3 separate regions of the Homo sapiens genome follow, and regions 2 and 3 are each linked to region 1. The links are contacts of gene promoters, found by promoter capture Hi-C in blood cells and fetal thymus (Javierre and others, 2016). All regions are on one chromosome and are shown on one strand. The core of a region is centred on a gene start or on the middle of the fragment in contact, and the rest is flanking DNA. Distances in the headings are between cores, read along the strand shown.

Region 1 (2,700 bases), core at 139-2,638:
GAAAATTCTCAAAGTAATAAATTATAGACTAAATAAATATAGCGGAATTCAGTCTAAATTATAGGAACTCCTTTTTTGATAACTAATATTTTTAAAGTACTCACTATGTGCTACGGCACTGTGCTAATCACTTTACTGTGATTTATCTAGTAATACCGTATGATGTAGGTACTATTATCACCCCACTCTAAGGAGTTCAAAGAAATAAAGAAACCTCCACAGTGTCATGAAGTAGCCCCGCTAGGACTCAGGCCTGGCTGAATCCAAAGCTCAGGCTTCTAAGCATAACGTGTACTGCTGCTTCTCAGGCTGCACATTCTATTTTACATTATTGGTAGTTTCTCTCTGGCGTTCTTTGTGGGAATGTTCACTGCCCCCGCCCCGCCCCGAAGTGGAACCCTGTCTTCTAACAAACTTTTCGCTGCTCCACCGTCTCCTGTCATGTTCCGCCTCTCAATGGAGTCCCAGCCCACACTCCGATTCTGGTCCCTGAACAGAGCCCCTTCCCCTCACACCATGGCCCCCTAGCAGAGCCTGGTCTCCTCAGATCCTCTTCTCCCAGCAGGGCCCCAACTCCTCACTCCGACGATTCCCCCAGAGTTCCGTTCCCTCAGATCCTGCTTTTCCAGCAAAGCTGCGATTCCTGTACCCCAGCAGAGAGCAATACCCCGTCGGCAAACTTCCACAGAGACATCTTACCGAGGTCCCAGCCCAGCCCCTAATTAAGGGCACACCTCTACCTTTCCCCTTCCCAACCTTCTCCCACAACTGTGCTTTCCCCCGCCCTATTCCCTTTTTCTGTTTATTAATTCTCCTCAACCTCTCCACCATCTCGTGGCCCAGTTTCAGGATTCCCCCGCAAACTCACCCACCGCACTGTCTCCTCAAAGTTGCGTTCCCAAACGGCGCAGTGCTCTGCCCGCACTTACGCTCCCAGCGCTGCTTCGGGATCTGCGCTCCCCAACTGCCCTCCGGGAATACGCCCTGCAGTTGAACAGCGCCCGAGGCCCCGCCCCCTCTGCGTCCATTGGCCATTGTTCTCGAGAAGTCCCGCCCCTCCCGCTTCCAGCCCGCCTCCCCGCCCCGCTTCCCTTGTTTTCATTCCCCCTGTCACACGAGGCAGTGGCAAGCCCGAAGGGGAGGAGAGAAGGGGGCGGAAAGAGGGCGGAAAGTGAAAGGCGCCGAGGGCCGCTCTGTCTCCCGTCTGACTCGGTTCTCGACTGCTCCGGGCCGCCGATGTATTGTGGGATCGCGGAGCCGTCCCTGAGACGCTGGGATCCGCAGAGGAGCCCACTTGAGAGCGCCTCCTGTCGTCTGTAAGGTTGCCTTGCCATCCCTCGGCACCACAACTTCCCCCGCCCCCCCATCGCCTCCTCCTCCATCCTCCAGTTCAAAATGGCGACGGCGGCGGCAGCGGCGGCGGTGATGGCTCCTCCGGGCTGCCCGGGTTCGTGCCCCAACTTCGCCGTAGTCTGCTCCTTCTTGGAGCGCTACGGGCCGCTGCTAGACCTGCCTGAGTTGCCGTTCCCTGAGCTGGAGCGGGTGCTGCAGGCGCCGCCGCCGGACGTCGGCAACGGAGAAGGTAAGCGAGGGGCCCGAACGCCCGGCGGGAAGCGGCCCTGGCGCTCTGCTACTCTCCGCTCTTCACAGGCGCCCCGGTTCTTCGCGGCTCGGGCCTCCGCGGCTCTGTCTTCCCCCTGGGACGCAACTCCGCCGGGCTGGTCTTCTCCGCCCAGCCCCCGGGGTCTTGGGCAGTGGGGAGGCGGGGCGGAGGCCCCCTAGGGCCACTCGGCCGGGCGGGGAGCTGAGGTGGAGGCGTTGCGGGCTAGGTGTGGGCTGGAGGCGGGGAGGGGTCATTGTGCCGGTCGGCAGCCCCGGGGACTGCTTCTCCGCGGCGGAGGGCGGCCCCCCACCCCGTCTCCCCCTTGGCGGCGGGGGAAGGGGAGCGCAGGTTCCGGCCAGCTTTGCGCTTTTCTCCTCCTCCCCACCCTTACTCCCTCCCCTCCTCCCACCAGTCTTCCCGACCATCTCGGGGAAGGCTGGGCTCGGCTGCTCCGGACACCTCCTTATCTCCCTTCACCTGGGTGGGCGGGGGCCAGCGGACACTCAACTCTCCCTCCCTCTGTTGGGAACTCCCCTGAGAGATTTGTCCCTTTTCCCTTCCCCTCGAGGGCTGCTTTAACCCCTAAAACTCCTTCCTTGAAGTGGGGAGGTCTGCTCCTCCCCCACGGGAGGGGGTTCTTCTCCATTCTCGGTAGGGGGGCGAAGTCGGTTCAGCTCCACTGTGGAGAGGAGAGGGTTAATTCCTCCTCCATAGTTCTCCTTCCTCTCCCCACCTCCCCCAAAATAATAGGCGAGCATCTCCCCACTTTTCCAATCCCTTCCCCCTTCATCTTGGCAGCCGGGCTTAGGCGAAGAAGTCGTCTCCCTCCCATTTGCACGGTAGGGTGGGGTGGTTAGTATGTAAGCTGGAGGAGGGGCTCTGACGGAGGGGGAAACAGTTGAAGAAGGTGCTTGTTGCTCATGTTTCTCTCTCTGGTGCCGCTGGTCTATTATTGGTGTTCGCAAGTGGTGCTCCTTCCACATAAGGCCACCGCGCGGGTGCAGGGCGCATGCTCTGCCCGGCCCCATTGAAACTTCCTGCTGCTGCTGCTGGTTCTTTTGCTGGAGCATCTCAGCGCTGCGCCTGCTGCCTCCAGC
Region 2 (2,700 bases), core at 107-2,606, 200 kb before region 1:
CTGACTAATAGAGTCATTTCTGGTAAATGCTAATGTTAGACAGAAACGAAACTTAACATTAGCCAACCACAAGCAGCCAACTAACATACAATTAAGTAGCTGTGGACTTTTCAACAAAGGAAACCAAAAAAGGAGATTTTTTAACTGTAACCAATTTTATATATATATATGTATATATATATATATGTGTGTGTGTGTGTGTGTGTGTGTGTGTGTGTGTATATATATATATATTTTTTTTTTTTTTTTTTGAGAGGGAATCTTTGTTGCCCAGGCTGGAGTTCAGTGGTGCAATCTTAGCTCACTACAATCTCTGCCTCCCGGGTTCCAGCGATTCTCCTGCCTCAGCGTCCACAGTATCTGGGATTACAGGCACATGCCATCACACCCAGCTAATTTTTGTATTTTCAGTAGAGACGGGGTTTCACCATTTTGGTCAGGCTGGTCTCGAACTTCTGACCTCAAATGATCTGTCCGCTTTGGCCTCCCAAAGTGCTAGGATTACAGGCGTGAGCCACCATGCCTGTCCCCAACAAAATATCTTGCTTCCATATTCTCCCCATAAATATTTGCCTCTGATGCATTGTCATGGGAACACTCAACCTCTTTCCATCTGGTGTTCCCCGATTCAAGAATTGCCTGTTACTCAAGTATACTCTTAAAAAAGTTTTGTTGATCCTCAGACTTTACATTTTAACACCACCCTACCTCCTAGAGCGCCAGTTTTCTGATCTGTAAAATGGGTGTTGCGGATCTTTCACTCCCTAGGACTGTAGGGAATAGAAAGTCTCTGGTTGTCAATGTCAGTCAATGTCAATTCCTTCTGCCTCCCCCATTTCACTACTGGGAACTCCGAGGCCCAGAGAGGGGCATTAACTAATGTCAACTTTAATAACGGGATTCAAGCAATATGTTTAAGTAATTTATTTAAGCGTAAAAGAAAATATAGGAAGAGGCAAGTTGCCGTGGCTCAGGCCTGTAATCCCACCACTTTGGGAGGCTGAGGTGGGAGGATCACTTGAGCCCAGGAGGTTGAGGTTGCAGTGAGCCTGATCCGCCACTGCACTTCAGCCTGAGCGATAGAGTGAGACCCTGTCTCTGAAAAAAAAAAAAGAAAGAAAGAAAGAAAAGGAAGGAAATTAATCTATATCAAAAGGTCAGTCCTTAAGGGGTCTGCTCCATTTCTCGGTCTCCAAAGTCAGCCCTTCTCAGGGCCTAACAACTTTTAGAAGCCCCAAATAGACAGACTGTCCATTTCTTTCTGCACTTGGCCCAGTCTCACTGCAAGCCACGCCTGGCTCAGCCCCGTCCCGCCTTGAGCCTCGGTGTTCCCACCTAGGGGCGGGCAGCCAGGGGCACTTCCGCTGGCCCAAGTGATCTGCATGTGGCAGGGCTGCGCAGTGGAGCGGCCAGTGGGCAGGATGACGAGCCAGACCCCTCTGCCCCAGTCCCCCCGGCCCAGGCGGCCAACGGTAAGTGCGAGGCTAGCTGCGTCCCCGCGCCTCTGTCCTCCGCCTCTTCCCTCCGCCTCTTCCCTCCCTTCCAGTTTCTCCTGCCCGTCCCTCCCAGACGCCCGAGCCCCCTGCTTCTGGCGCGCTGTCCCCCTTCACCTCGGGCTGGTCGCTCTCTTCAATCTTTGCCGTCCCTCCTGCTGGGATCACTCTCCTTTCGCGCCTCGGTGTCCCTTTCTGGTTTGGCTCTGTCCAGCCTTTCCTCTTTGCCCTTTTGCTTCCTCCCTCTACATTGGGTCTTTAGTTCCTTTCCCTTGTCTCTTCCCCACCGGCTTGTCCTAGCCCACGACTCCTCCTCTGCCCCACCTTCTCCCTTGCTCCCGGTGGGAGAAGCCCATCCAACCAGCTCGGCCAGAGGATCTTTCCCTCACCTGCAGCCCTCTCCAGCCTGCCCCTGCCCCTTGGCTGGGTCTTCAGCCTGCCCCTGCCCTCTGGCTGGGTCCCAAATCCCTCTGCTTGCCTGCCTGGTCCCCAGCTTGGGTGAGGGGAGTTGGGGAGGAGGATGGGGAAAAGGCTGCGTGCACTCTGGGAGCAGAACATTCGGGTTCTCTCCTGCACTGAGAGTCATCCTGAAGACCTGGAGGAAGAGAAAGCAGATCCAGCAGCAGGGCAGCGTGGCTCTCTCTAATAGGGCCATGATCACGTCATTGTTGTTGGCTATTGACAAAGCCACATGCCTAGTGCCAGGACCACCCTAGGTGTTCCATAAATGCCTGAATGAATTACTGGGGAAGTGTAAGGCACTGTGCATGATGCCAGGTAGGGCAAGATTGGCCTTGAACAGAATACTAGATGCTCCTGTAAATCAGAGGATATTCCCCTCCCTTAGGAGCCTCACAGAGTTTTTGTTTGTTTGTTTGTTTGTTAAAATAGAGATGGGGTCTCGCCATGTTGGTGAGACCCAGGCTGGTCTCAAACTCTTAGGCTCAGGCAATCCTCCTACCTCAGCCTCCCAAAGTGCTGGGATTACAGGCATGAAACACAGCACTTGGCCAGGAACCTCACAGTCAATGAAGAAACAGGGAATTGCAAGGGAAGAACTGCCAGGCCAGTGGAAGTATAGTAGTGTAGGACTTTCTGGGATCACAGTGAGACAACCCACCCCGAAGGACTCCCAGAGGAATTCATCTGAAGGATGAGTGGGGTCAGAGAAAGGAGTGCGGATGGCCAAGTGAGTGAGCTTCTGGAG
Region 3 (2,700 bases), core at 56-2,555, 230 kb before region 1:
TATTAGAGACTGGGTTTCACTATGTTGGCCAGGTTGGTCTTGAACTCCTAACCTCACGTGATCTACCCGCTTCAGCCTCCCAAAGTGCTGGGATTACAGGCGTGAGCAACCACACTCAGCCCCAAGTGTACTTTCTTTCCTTTCCTGCTCTAAAGCTTTTAATAAACTTTCACTCCTGCTCTAAGACTTGTCTCGGTTTCTCCTTCTGCCTTATGTGCCTCAGTCGAATTCTTTCTGCTGAGGAGGCAAGAACTGAGGTTGCGGCAGACCCATACGGATTCGCTGCCGGTCACGCTCCTTGTATTAATTTTGTATTGCTGTTGTAACAGATGAACACAAACCTAGGGGCTTAAAGCAACAGACACTTATTACCTTATAATCCTGGAGGTCAGAAGTCCAACATGGGTCTCACCAGCGTAAAATCAAGGGGTCAGCAGGGCTGCCCTCCTTTCTGGAGGCTCTGGGGAGAATTCGTTCCTTGTCTTTTCTGGCTCCTAGAGGCTGCCCGCACTCTTTGGCTTGTAATCTTTTCCTCTGTGTTCAAAGCCAGGAACACCTTTTCATGCTGCCTCTCTGGTTCTCCCTCTTCCAGTTACATTGGGTACTGCTGGATAATTCAGGATAATCTTTCCATCTTAAGGTCAGCTGATTAGCAATCTTAACTCCATCTGCCCCCTTAATTTCCCTTTGCCATGTAACCTAACATTTACAGGTTCAGGAATTAGGAAGGTGGCATCTTTGGGGGCCATTATTGTGCCTATTACACTCATCCCTTTCAATTTTGTTTTTATATGCCATGGTATTTTTTTTCTTTCTTTTTTGAGATGAAGTCTCGCGATGTTGCCTAGGCCGGTCTCGAGCTCCAAGGCTCAAACCATCCTCCCACTTCAGCTTCCTCATTAGCTCAGACTGCAGGCGCCTGTTACATTGCTTTGGTGCCTTGTATTTTTGTTTTGTTTTTATTTTATTATTTTATTTTTTTGTTTGTTTTTGGTTTTGAAACGGAGTCTCACTCTGTCGCCCAGGCTGGAGTGCAGTGGTGCAATCTCAGCTCACTGCAACCTCTGCCTCCTAGGTTCAAGTGATTCTCCTGCCTCAGCCTCCCGAGTAGCTAGGATTACAGGCGTGAGCCATCACACCCAGCTAATTTTTGTATTTTTAGTAGAGACGGGGTTTCACCATGTTGGTCAGGCTGGTCTGGAACTCCTGACCTCAGGTGATCTGCCTGCCTCGGCCTCCCAAAGTGTTGGGATTATAGTCATGAGCCACTGCACCTGGCCTGTTTTGTTTTTTTTGAGTCAAGATCTCACTCTGTCACCCAGGCTGGAGTACAGTGGCATAATCACGGCTTGCTGTAGCCTCAACTTCCCAGGCTCAAAGGATTCTCCCACCTCAGCCTTCCCGAGTAGCTGGGACTACCGGCATGTGCCACCAAGTCCAGCTAATTTTTTTATTTCTTGTAGAGACAAGAAATATAATTTGGCTGGGCACAGTGGCTCACGCCTGTAATCCCAGCACTTTGGGAGGCCGAGGCAGGTGGATCATGAGGTCAGAAGATCGAGACCATCCTGGCTAACATCGTGAAACCCCGTCTCTACTAAAAATACAAAAAATTAGCCAGGTGTGGTGGCAGGCGCCTGTAGTCTTAGCTACTCGGGAGGTTGAGGCAGGAGAATGGCGTGAACCCAGGAGGCGGAGCTTGCAGTGAGCTGAGATTGTGCCACTGCACTCCAGCCTGGGCAACAGAGCGAGACTCTGTCTCAAAAAAAAAAAAAAAAAAAGAAATATAAGTTTCGTCACATTGTCCAGGCTGGTCTTGAACTCCTGGCCTCAAGTGATGCCCCTACCTCAGCCTCCAAAAGTGCTAGGATTACAGCCATGAGCCACCGTGCCTGGCCAGGATATAGTATATTTAATAAAATATATACCTATTAAAATTTTTCTGGCTGGGTATGGTGGGCTGTAATCCTAGCACTTTGGGAGGCCTGGGTAGGAGGATTGCTTGAGGCCACGAGTCTGACACCAAGATGGGTGACATAGTGAGAGGCCCCATCTCTACTAAAAAATATTTTTGCAACCTGGGCAGCATAAAGAGACCCCATCTCTACAAAAAATTTAAGTTAGCTGGGTGTGGTGGCATGCGCCTATGGTCCCAGCTACTCAAGAGGCTGAGGCAGGAGGATTGCTTGTGCCCAGGAGGTCAAGGCTGCAGTTAGCCGTGATCATTGCCACAGCACTCCAGCCTGGGCTACAGAGCAATGCGCTGTCTCAAAAAAACCCCCAAAATTATGATTTCATGTATCTGTATATTCTTTATACCTACACAGGTAGTAAACACAAACTTAAACGTTGGAATGAAAAAGCAAATTGAAGGAGCCATCTGGGTGGAGGGAGGGGAAAAAAGGAAGCGTACATGAGTACTTTATATTCATTAGGTCTTATTTCCCAAGCTTAGTAATGGCTACATGAATATTTATATATTCATCATCTAATATTTTTGAATAGATTAAGTACTTATAACAACAGAAAAGGAAAAGTGAGAAATGTTTTCTAGGAATAAATGCAAGCCTCAGCAAAAGTTCAGAGGCATGAAATAGCAAGATACATACATACATATATACTGATGATTCTCCAGCATGCCTGCACTCTCTCCCAAACTCCACCATAACTTCCAAATCTTTGCTCACCTCTTCCTAACCT

Evidence for each region. Contacts are between HindIII fragments. The CHiCAGO score rates a contact against its expected background, and 5 or more counts as called.
Region 2: a contact is called between the fragment with the promoter of KCTD14 here and the fragment with the promoter of RSF1 in region 1, in 7 of 17 cell types (total B cells, total CD4 T cells, erythroblasts and 4 more). The highest score is 8.4, in total B cells.
Region 3: a fragment that was not itself captured here is called in contact with the fragment with the promoter of RSF1 in region 1 in 2 of 17 cell types (megakaryocytes and endothelial precursors); the score reaches 5.2 in megakaryocytes.

Annotation. Positions count from the first base shown.
Region 1 is chr11:77,819,410-77,822,109 of GRCh38, reverse strand. RSF1 (remodeling and spacing factor 1) reads left to right here and starts at 1,388. Exons shown (of 16, transcript NM_016578.4): 1 at 1,388-1,582. The coding sequence starts at 1,396. AAMDC (adipogenesis associated Mth938 domain containing) reads right to left here and starts at 966. Exons shown (of 4, transcript NM_024684.4): 1 at 869-966. RefSeq lists silencers at 929-1,088, 1,679-1,768, 1,909-1,998 and enhancers at 1,189-1,328, 1,339-1,508, 1,061-2,033, 2,629-2,700, 2,034-2,700. The HindIII fragment of the contact is 10,465 bases long and covers 1-2,700 here.
Region 2 is chr11:78,021,932-78,024,631 of GRCh38, reverse strand. It overlaps KCTD14 (potassium channel tetramerization domain containing 14), which reads left to right and starts at 1,356. Exons shown (of 2, transcript NM_023930.4): 1 at 1,356-1,472. The coding sequence starts at 1,383. All of the region lies in intron 2 of NDUFC2-KCTD14 (NDUFC2-KCTD14 readthrough), which reads left to right. LOC124902723 (a long non-coding RNA gene) reads right to left here and starts at 2,089. Exons shown (of 2, transcript XR_007062795.1): 1 at 1,611-2,089; 2 at 910-1,098. RefSeq lists enhancers at 862-1,429, 1,430-1,999, 2,000-2,567. The HindIII fragment of the contact is 5,224 bases long and covers 1-2,700 here.
Region 3 is chr11:78,046,610-78,049,309 of GRCh38, reverse strand. The region is part of intron 1 of NDUFC2-KCTD14 (NDUFC2-KCTD14 readthrough); the gene reads left to right. Among named protein-coding and RNA genes, the nearest start is that of THRSP, 16 kb to the left of the region's middle. The HindIII fragment of the contact is 2,295 bases long and covers 158-2,452 here.